2 separate regions of the Homo sapiens genome follow, and region 2 is linked to region 1. Evidence: promoter capture Hi-C in 16 types of primary human blood cells and fetal thymus (Javierre and others, 2016). All regions are on one chromosome and are shown on one strand. The core of a region is centred on a gene start or on the middle of the fragment in contact, and the rest is flanking DNA. Distances in the headings are between cores, read along the strand shown.

Evidence for each region. Contacts are between HindIII fragments. The CHiCAGO score rates a contact against its expected background, and 5 or more counts as called.
Region 2: the fragment with the promoter of SLC33A1 here is called in contact with the fragment with the promoter of SHOX2 in region 1 in 1 of 17 cell types (non-activated CD4 T cells); the score reaches 5.4 in non-activated CD4 T cells.

What each region holds. Positions count from the first base shown.
Region 1 is chr3:158,104,545-158,108,412 of GRCh38, forward strand. SHOX2 (SHOX homeobox 2) reads right to left here and starts at 1,876. Exons shown (of 5, transcript NM_001163678.2): 1 at 1,135-1,876. The coding sequence starts at 1,480. RefSeq lists a silencer at 1,266-1,315 and an enhancer at 2,064-2,567. The HindIII fragment of the contact is 5,227 bases long and covers 693-3,868 here.
Region 2 is chr3:155,852,636-155,856,503 of GRCh38, forward strand. SLC33A1 (solute carrier family 33 member 1) reads right to left here and starts at 1,792. Exons shown (of 6, transcript NM_004733.4): 1 at 588-1,792. The coding sequence starts at 1,362. It overlaps LOC105374174 (a long non-coding RNA gene), which reads left to right and starts at 2,118. Exons shown (of 3, transcript XR_924607.4): 1 at 2,118-2,443. RefSeq lists enhancers at 1,380-1,449, 1,820-2,379. The HindIII fragment of the contact is 4,607 bases long and covers 1,033-3,868 here.

The sequences.
Region 1 (3,868 bases), core at 626-3,125:
TTAAATATGAAAACACACCCTTCAAATTCTGCCAATGAGGTGGGAAGGCTTTGTCTATTACATGTCATCTACACAGTGGATGCCACTCAAAGTTTTGGGGCTTCGAGGAGATGTCCAAATTTCAAGTTGATCCATAGACTTAATAAAATCTCTATTTTTGTCCCCAAATTTCCAATTACTGATCTAAACAGGAACAGACCGTGTCATAAACAACTTAATTGCTTGCTTAAATATGTGATTCCACGCATGCCACATATTTTCTTAATTGGAAAAATATGGCAGTACACCAGTTACTGCAGGCACCAAGTGCCAAATCAATTTTATTGTTGAACTCCTTTGAATTGGTATAGAACGCTCTGCCATTGAGATAAAGACGTTTCCTAACACTGAGCTAGCACCAAAGGATTTTTGCTCTAAGAGAACCGAGTACTGGGTGATTGAAAACACTAAAGGAATTGTGTAAATATAGATCCCCACCTCCCCCGCCGCCCCCCCCCCCCGCCCCCAACACACCAAGAAACCGAAACGCCTCGCCCGGGAGAAGCAGCGTAGCCTGGACCTCAGCTTTCGTTGGCTTCCTTCTACCTTGAAAGAGAATGGGAAGTTTTGGCCCCTAAGATCCAAAGATTCAGGGGCTCTGCGGAGTTCGAGGGGTCTTGGCGGCCCCAAACACCTAGGCGACCGGAGGGTTAAGCTTTCCACCTCTGCCCCTTCTCCCTCCCGGCAAACTCTGCGCTAGAGGCTAGCTTTAGTCCCGCCGTCTGGTTCAGCACCCCCTCCTGCAGCCCGGCCCCGCGAACTTCCACGTCCGCCTGCGGGCCATCCGGGCTGCGGGCCCATCCTCCCGCTGGTGAAAAATGCATTTCGGTGGAATGGGAACATCTGGGAAGGGCGCGCACAAACCCCACACGCTTCCCCCCACGCCACCCCCACAACACACTAGGACCCCACCCATGACCGAGCATACCACCGGACCCCCACCCTTCCACTATCACTCTAGCTGACAAAGCTGGGGTCCAGGGCCCTCTCCGTGTCCCTCTCCCCTCCCCGCTGGGCCTCGGAGTCCTCTCCCGCCCGAGAGGAGTCCGGAAGGCGGGAAGGGGAACCGCTGCCGGGGGTCAGTCAGGTCGTTACCCTCCGTCAGTCGCGGGCTGCCCGGCTCCCTGCTTCTCTCGGCGGCGCCCATGTCCAGCTCCCGGACGGGAGAGCGCCCTCCTCCAGCTCCTCCGCCTGCTCCTCCTCCTCCTACACCTCCTCCGCCTCCTCCGCCGCCGCCTCCGCCTCCTCCGCCGCCGCCTCCGCCGGCCGCCCGGACTGCCGGGCTGCTGCGGTCGTCGCGGCCCGCCTCGGTGCAGCCGGTCGGCTCCTTGGCCCCGCGCAGCGGCCCGCTCTCCAGCACCTCCCGGTACGTGATCGCCTCCTTCTTCTCCTTCACTTTCTGGTCAAAAGACTTGGAGACGAACGCCGTAAGTTCTTCCATCGCCGCCGCACGTCAGCCCGGCGCTCAACCTCTGCCAGCAGAGCCCCGCTCTTTTTTTCCTTCTTCTTTTTTTACTGCTCCAGCCCCCCCAATAATAACACATCAATGGGACAGGAGGTGGGGGAGGAGAGGGAGGAGGAGAAAGAAGAAGAAAAAGAGGAGAAGAAAGAAGAAAGAGGAGGAGAAGTAGAAGGAGAAAAAGAAGTAAGAAGAGGAGGAGGAGGAAGAAGAGGAAGAGGGGGAGAAGGGTGAAGAGGAGAGGGAGGAGGAGGAGGAGAAGAGAAGGGGCGGGGGCTGCCGGAGGGAAATGGGAACTGATGCTTCCCTGCCGGAGCGCGCTTGTTCAATGTTAAGATCTTTGACAATTCTTCCTGCGGAGAGTTCAGATCTGATAGCGACGCTGCGCTTGAAGTCCCACTATTTATACTTCCTAACGGCGGCCTCTTGTTTTGAGTAAATTACCTCCCCTCGCAACTCGGAGTGAGCCCCCTTCCCGGGTAGCAGTCGCGCCTCTACCGGGGGTTGGGGAGGGGAAAAGGAGAGAAACAGAGAGAGAGAGAGAGAGAGAGAGAGAGAGAGAGAGAGAGAGAGAGAGAAGAGGAGAGAGAGAGATTGGAGTTCGGGCGGGCTGGGGCTGGAGTGGTAGGGCAGCACAGGGGGACCGGAGGGGGCGGGGAGAGAAGGCCGGTCCCCGGCCGCTCAGGTTTTCAGATAGCCCCTGCCGCCTGTGCTCTTGGCCATTAATCCAGGATTGACAAGAATCCCTAATTAATTTAATTAGGCGTGGATTTTGCGTTGGTGTCACGACTTAGTTAAACACTGGGGAGCTGGATAGACCCCGCGGGGTGGGGCCAAGAGGAAACTGACAAGTGCGCAGCTCTTAGAGTCAGTCAGGTATCCCGACACTGCATCCTTCCCTACAGCCTTGCTTCGAGTCAGGGTGCCTCGCAATGCTCAGCTTCGCATTGCTTTTCCTCGTCCCTGCCCTGCATCAACCGCCCAGCAGTTTACAGGCCCCGCATCCCATTCCCGCATCCTGACCCCGCATCCCAATTCTGCATCCCCGCCTCTCCCTCACAATCCCACCCCTGCCGGCCGTAGCTCCACCGCCCAGCATCATCCTGCCCAGAGACAGGGTTGCCTGCACCTTCTCCGACCCGCGCAGCTTCTCTTAGGAGCTTCCCGGCTCGCAGGCAGGCTGAGTCCGGGTCTTCTCCAAGCTCCTCGCCCCTCGGTCCGTGTTATTCGCTCTATTATTCGTGTCCTGGAGCCCAGCTGACTCCTCTATGGACAGACCCCGCTAAAAGGGACCAGTCGATTTAACAAGTTTCCCCAGCAGCTGTTAGCTGACAGATCTCATTTTAAAGTGTTTCCTTAGCGCCCGGTCAAGGACAGCTCGACTTCGTTCGTTTCCTCTCTGAGGTCTCAGAACTCCCACCCTTCTCCCTTACTCTCTGCACTCGGACCCCTCTATGGTGAATTACAGGACTTCTTCTTTAGCATCTTGGGAAACATCCGAGTTTATTTACTAATTTGAAAAACAAGAGATTATCCCTCTTCGAGTCTGAAAAAAAAATCGACGTTAAGTTTGTACCCCCTCTAATTTCATTTATTACGGAGAGCTAAAAAAGAGACGCTCGCCAGGAGTAAAGGTCTCTCTGCCTACCCCCCCCACCACCCCGCTTACGATTTAAAATTCTATTTCTGGGCTATTTTCATCGGAACGGTTTGTTACGTTAGAGGAACATCTATATTCCTGAGTCATTTGTCTGTATTGTGCCGGACAGGGCTTGCTGTGAGAAGTGTGGCTATGCAAATACATACTCACAAAAGAATATTTACATATGATGTTATATTTAAGTGTGTAAACAAATATACCTCTAAGTGTGGCTTAGGGGACATTTTCAAGTACTCTGAATATTAATGCAGACTTTCTGGAAGTTAAAGGTAACTTGATCATTATTTTGGATCTAATACTCTTAGTAAAAATAAGAGGAATTACAGAACATTAATATGTATATCTTCCGTATATTGGTTAAGGCATCAAAACAAATTAGCAGATAATTTAAGAAGTTCCGTCAAAACAACCTGAAACACTTGCAAAAAGAGAACACAATTATAACTTAATATATTAGTGTTTCTCAAATAGATGTAGATAGAAGCTGGATATAACCTTATGTTATACTACAATACTCACATTAAAATGTTCATGTTTGGTGAGTTTAAGGATTATGTATATCATGCTTTTTAGAAACGTTGTTTTCCCTTTTTAAAACATTTCATTTTTTGCCACTTTTAGGAGAGCTAATGTCTATAATTTTTCCGCAGCTATAGCTTTTAGGTATGAATACATTGTTATCAGTACTTGCTTTTGTTTTGTTACACCAC
Region 2 (3,868 bases), core at 542-3,041, 2.3 Mb before region 1:
TCTGCAATGTGAAGCCTGACTCCCAAAGGCAGTTACTAACTGGCAACTCTGAACTCTCCTAAAATGTTCATCTTCCTTATTTCTTGAGTGCAGAACTCTGCCTTATTCATTAGAGGCCTTAGAATCCCGTCCCTTAGCTGGTTCAATAATGTTTGAACGAATAAACCCTGTTCCATTCACTAGAAGGCTGGATTCTGGGTACAACGGTAGGGGTAGAAATGGATTAGAAAGTATAGAGCTAGAAACCTAAAACCAACAAGACAAAAGGAAAAATGTGAACCATATGAGCCACACTTTTTAAAAGTGTGCATTTGTGTATTAAGCAAGTGGCATGAATCCCTGGACTCGGTTGTGTTATTTGATGGGTTGCCTCTCCCTGTTAACCGCATAGTGATCATTTGATTGCTCTAATATCATTCATTTTGGCTTTAATATTTCAAAGAAGCTCATTTGGACGAAACAGAAAACTTACCTTGAGTTATCTCCCATACAATGATTTCCAGTAAATTAATGAGCTTCCCTCCAACGTCACACACTCTTTCAAAAGGATAAATAAACCTAACACCATAATAGCTTAAATACACTACCTGAAAGAGTAACGATTCCTCTGGGTTGAGGCTGAAACCGCAAATATTTGTTACAAAAGTCGGCAGATTCAAGGGCCAAAAACAAAACATTGCCCAAAAAGTAACCCGCTGTTTGGCCCACCGAATTGCAAGTAGAAGCATAACCCACATTTTCCCTGGATAACATAGTTAACGCCCAACCATCGACGGCAATGTCCTGAGTGGCGGCCAAGAATTCAAACAAAAAGAACGCCACAGTGAGAGCAATCACGTCGGGTGTTCTGTCATCGGTATTCCCAAGCAAACGGTCCACCTGAGTGGATAAATAGATCATGAAGAGTCCTAGTATATACTGTGTCGGGACAAGCCAAGATTTGCGACGACCGAAGTTCTTAACGTAGACCGCATCAACCAACGGGGCCCAGAGTAATTTGAGACTGAAGGGCCAAAAGACAAAACTGAAGAAAGCTTGGTCTGTATAGCTAACATTTTTGCTTTGCAAAATGAGTGGGATGCTTCCCGCCAAGCCCAGGGGAATACCCTGAAGCACGTAAAGAAAGAGTAGTAGCAAAATGCTGCTTAGTTCGGCCCGGAAGCTCTGTGGGGCTTTTAAGAAGTCGCCAGTGCCGGTATCCCCCAGAAGAGCTTCTCTGTCCCCTTCCCGGCCCGCTGAGTCCAAATGACTGTCATCCCAACCGCCTGGCGGCAGGGGACCGCTCTTCATATCCAGAGAGTGACTGAAATTCCCTGGCCGCCGTTGCCGGCTGCTGTCCTTGTGGGAGATGGTGGGTGACATATCAGAGACGATGCAGAGCCCCGTCTGTGGGGGGCCGAGGCTGAGCGTTTTGGATCCGTCCAGTCCCAGGTCCAAGGCTGTCGCGCTGGACCAGGGTTTCGGTGGTTCACGGGATGGTGGCAGGGCTCAGAGCGATAAGGGCACTTCTTACTGCAGCCCGGAGTGCTGAAGCCGGGAGCCAGTCCTCTGGCTAGAGGCCCAGAGGATGCCTGGATAGGTGCCCCCTGGAACGGCGTCAAAGAGCCTGAAGGAGACCCCCGGGCAGCAGCGCCGGGCTCGAGGCTGGAGGTGTGTGCCGTGGTGCCAGGATGGAAACCAGCTCCTACCTGCGGCGGGATCGAACGGCTGGTCTCCCGACCCAACACCTCCAGCTCTCGCTGCTATCAATGCGGCAGAGAGCACTTTCTCTACAGGACTCCAGAAAAAGCATATAACTTCCTGCCTCGCGCTTCAGGAAGTGGTCCCAGTCTCTAACAGGTCCCTTCCCAGCCTCCAGAGCAAGCCAATCAGGGACACGCTCTCGTGGCCCAGTTCGGAAACAATGCTTGGTGGGAACCTGCAATCTTGGCTGCCGGAACCTTCGGGGAGGATTAACGCCGGCGCACCGTGCGGCCGGGGCGGGGCGCCGCCCAAACTCAGGCCCTGTGACAGCGACTGTGGCGGTCTGGAAAGCGTGGGCCTCGGTCATTGGGCACGAGCGGTCACGTGACAGCGGGTTCCTCCAGGCCAGCGCTGGTGGTTGAGTGATGTAATCACGTGGGGTCTGAAGTCTTCGTGGGTGTAGGTTTCTTCGTTATGCTGACGACAGGCAGTGCCCGAACTCTAGGCTGGGAGTTGTGCCATGCTGCTGCTTTCGTGGGCTGACCAGAAAAGGGTAGAAGGATTGACGTTTACGAAGTTTTTGAATCAGGAGGCAAGGTCGCCTTGTGCCCCCAAAAGGATAGAAAAAGGCCTGGCAAACTGGAGAATCGCGTCCTTACGGTGCCTACATATTTATAGTACGAATTAAACTGCTCAAGGGGTGCTAGGTTTGTCTGCAGTCCGTTTCTCCCTCATGGTGGAAGACGCGTGGGGAAACTTGGTAACCAACTCTAATTACATTGGTGATTGGAAGACTCGTTACATCCTGTTTTTATGTTGCAATAAAACGTCTTGTGGCCGGGCGCGGTGGCTCACGCCTGTAATCCCAGCACTTTGGAAGGCCGAGGCGGGCGGATCACCTGAGATTGGGAGTTCAAGATCAGCCTGACCAACAAGGAGAAACCCGTCTCTACTAAGAGACGTACAGGAATTTGAGAATCTGATTAATTTTTTTTCTGCTCTCTCACCTCTGGCAGAAAGATTATTATTTTTTTTTCTTTTGAGAGGAATCTCACACTGTCGCCTGGGCTGGTGTTCAGTAGGGCCATCTCGGCTCGCTGCAGCCTCCACCTCCCGGGTTCAAGCGATTCTCCTGCCTCAGCCTCCCGAGTAGCTGGGACTACAGGCACGCGCCACCACGCCCGGCTAATTTTTGTATTTTTAGTAGAGACGGGGTTTCACTATGTTGGCCAGGCTGGTCTCGAACTCCTGACCTCGTGATCCGCCTGCCTCGGCCTCCCAAAGTGCTGGGATTACAAACGTAATGGCAGGCTAGGCACAGTGGCTCACGCCTATAATCCCAGAACTTTGGGAGGCCGAGGCGGGTGGATCACGAGGTCAAGAGATTGAGACCATCCTGGCCAACACGGTGAAACCCCGTCTCTACTAAAAATACAAAAAATTAGCTCGGCCTGGTGGCGCGCGCCTGTAGCCCCAGCTACTTGGGAGGCTGAGACAGGAGACTCGCTTGAACCTGGGAGGCGGAGGTTGCAGTGAACCGGGATCGTGCCACTGCAATCCAACCTGGCGACAGAGTGAGACTCCGTCTGGAAAAAAAAAAAAAAGGCAACTGTAAAGTCCTCTAATCTTTGTTAAGTAGAAGAATAGATTGCAGAAAAGAACAGTGTTGGCCGGGCGCGGTGGCTCACACCTGTAATCCCAACACTTTGAGAGGCTGAGGCGGGCAGATCACTTGAGGTCAGGGGTTCAAGACAAGCCTGGCCAATATGGTGAAACCCTGTCTCTACTAAAAATACAAAAATCAGCTGGGTGTGGTGGCTCATGCCTGTAGTCCCAGATACTCGGGAGGCTGGGGCTGGAGAATCGTTTGAACCCGGGAGGCGGAGGTTGCAGTGAGCCGAGATCATGCCATTGCACTCCAGTCTGGGTGTTAAAGAAAAGAACGGTGTCATTTAAGTCCAATCAAGATTAAACCAAAACAACCATGAGTGGGATTTATATTGTGCTGGATTCAAACCCTGGCTCTAACAGTAGTTGTGCCTTGGACAGATTACTTAACCTAAGCCTCCATTTTGATGAAAATTAAAATAGAGTTCATAACATCTATTTCAGAGAGTTGTGGGAGTTAAAGGAAGCAGCCAATAAAGCCATTCACAATCAGTAGGTGTTTTTTTTTTTTCCAAAA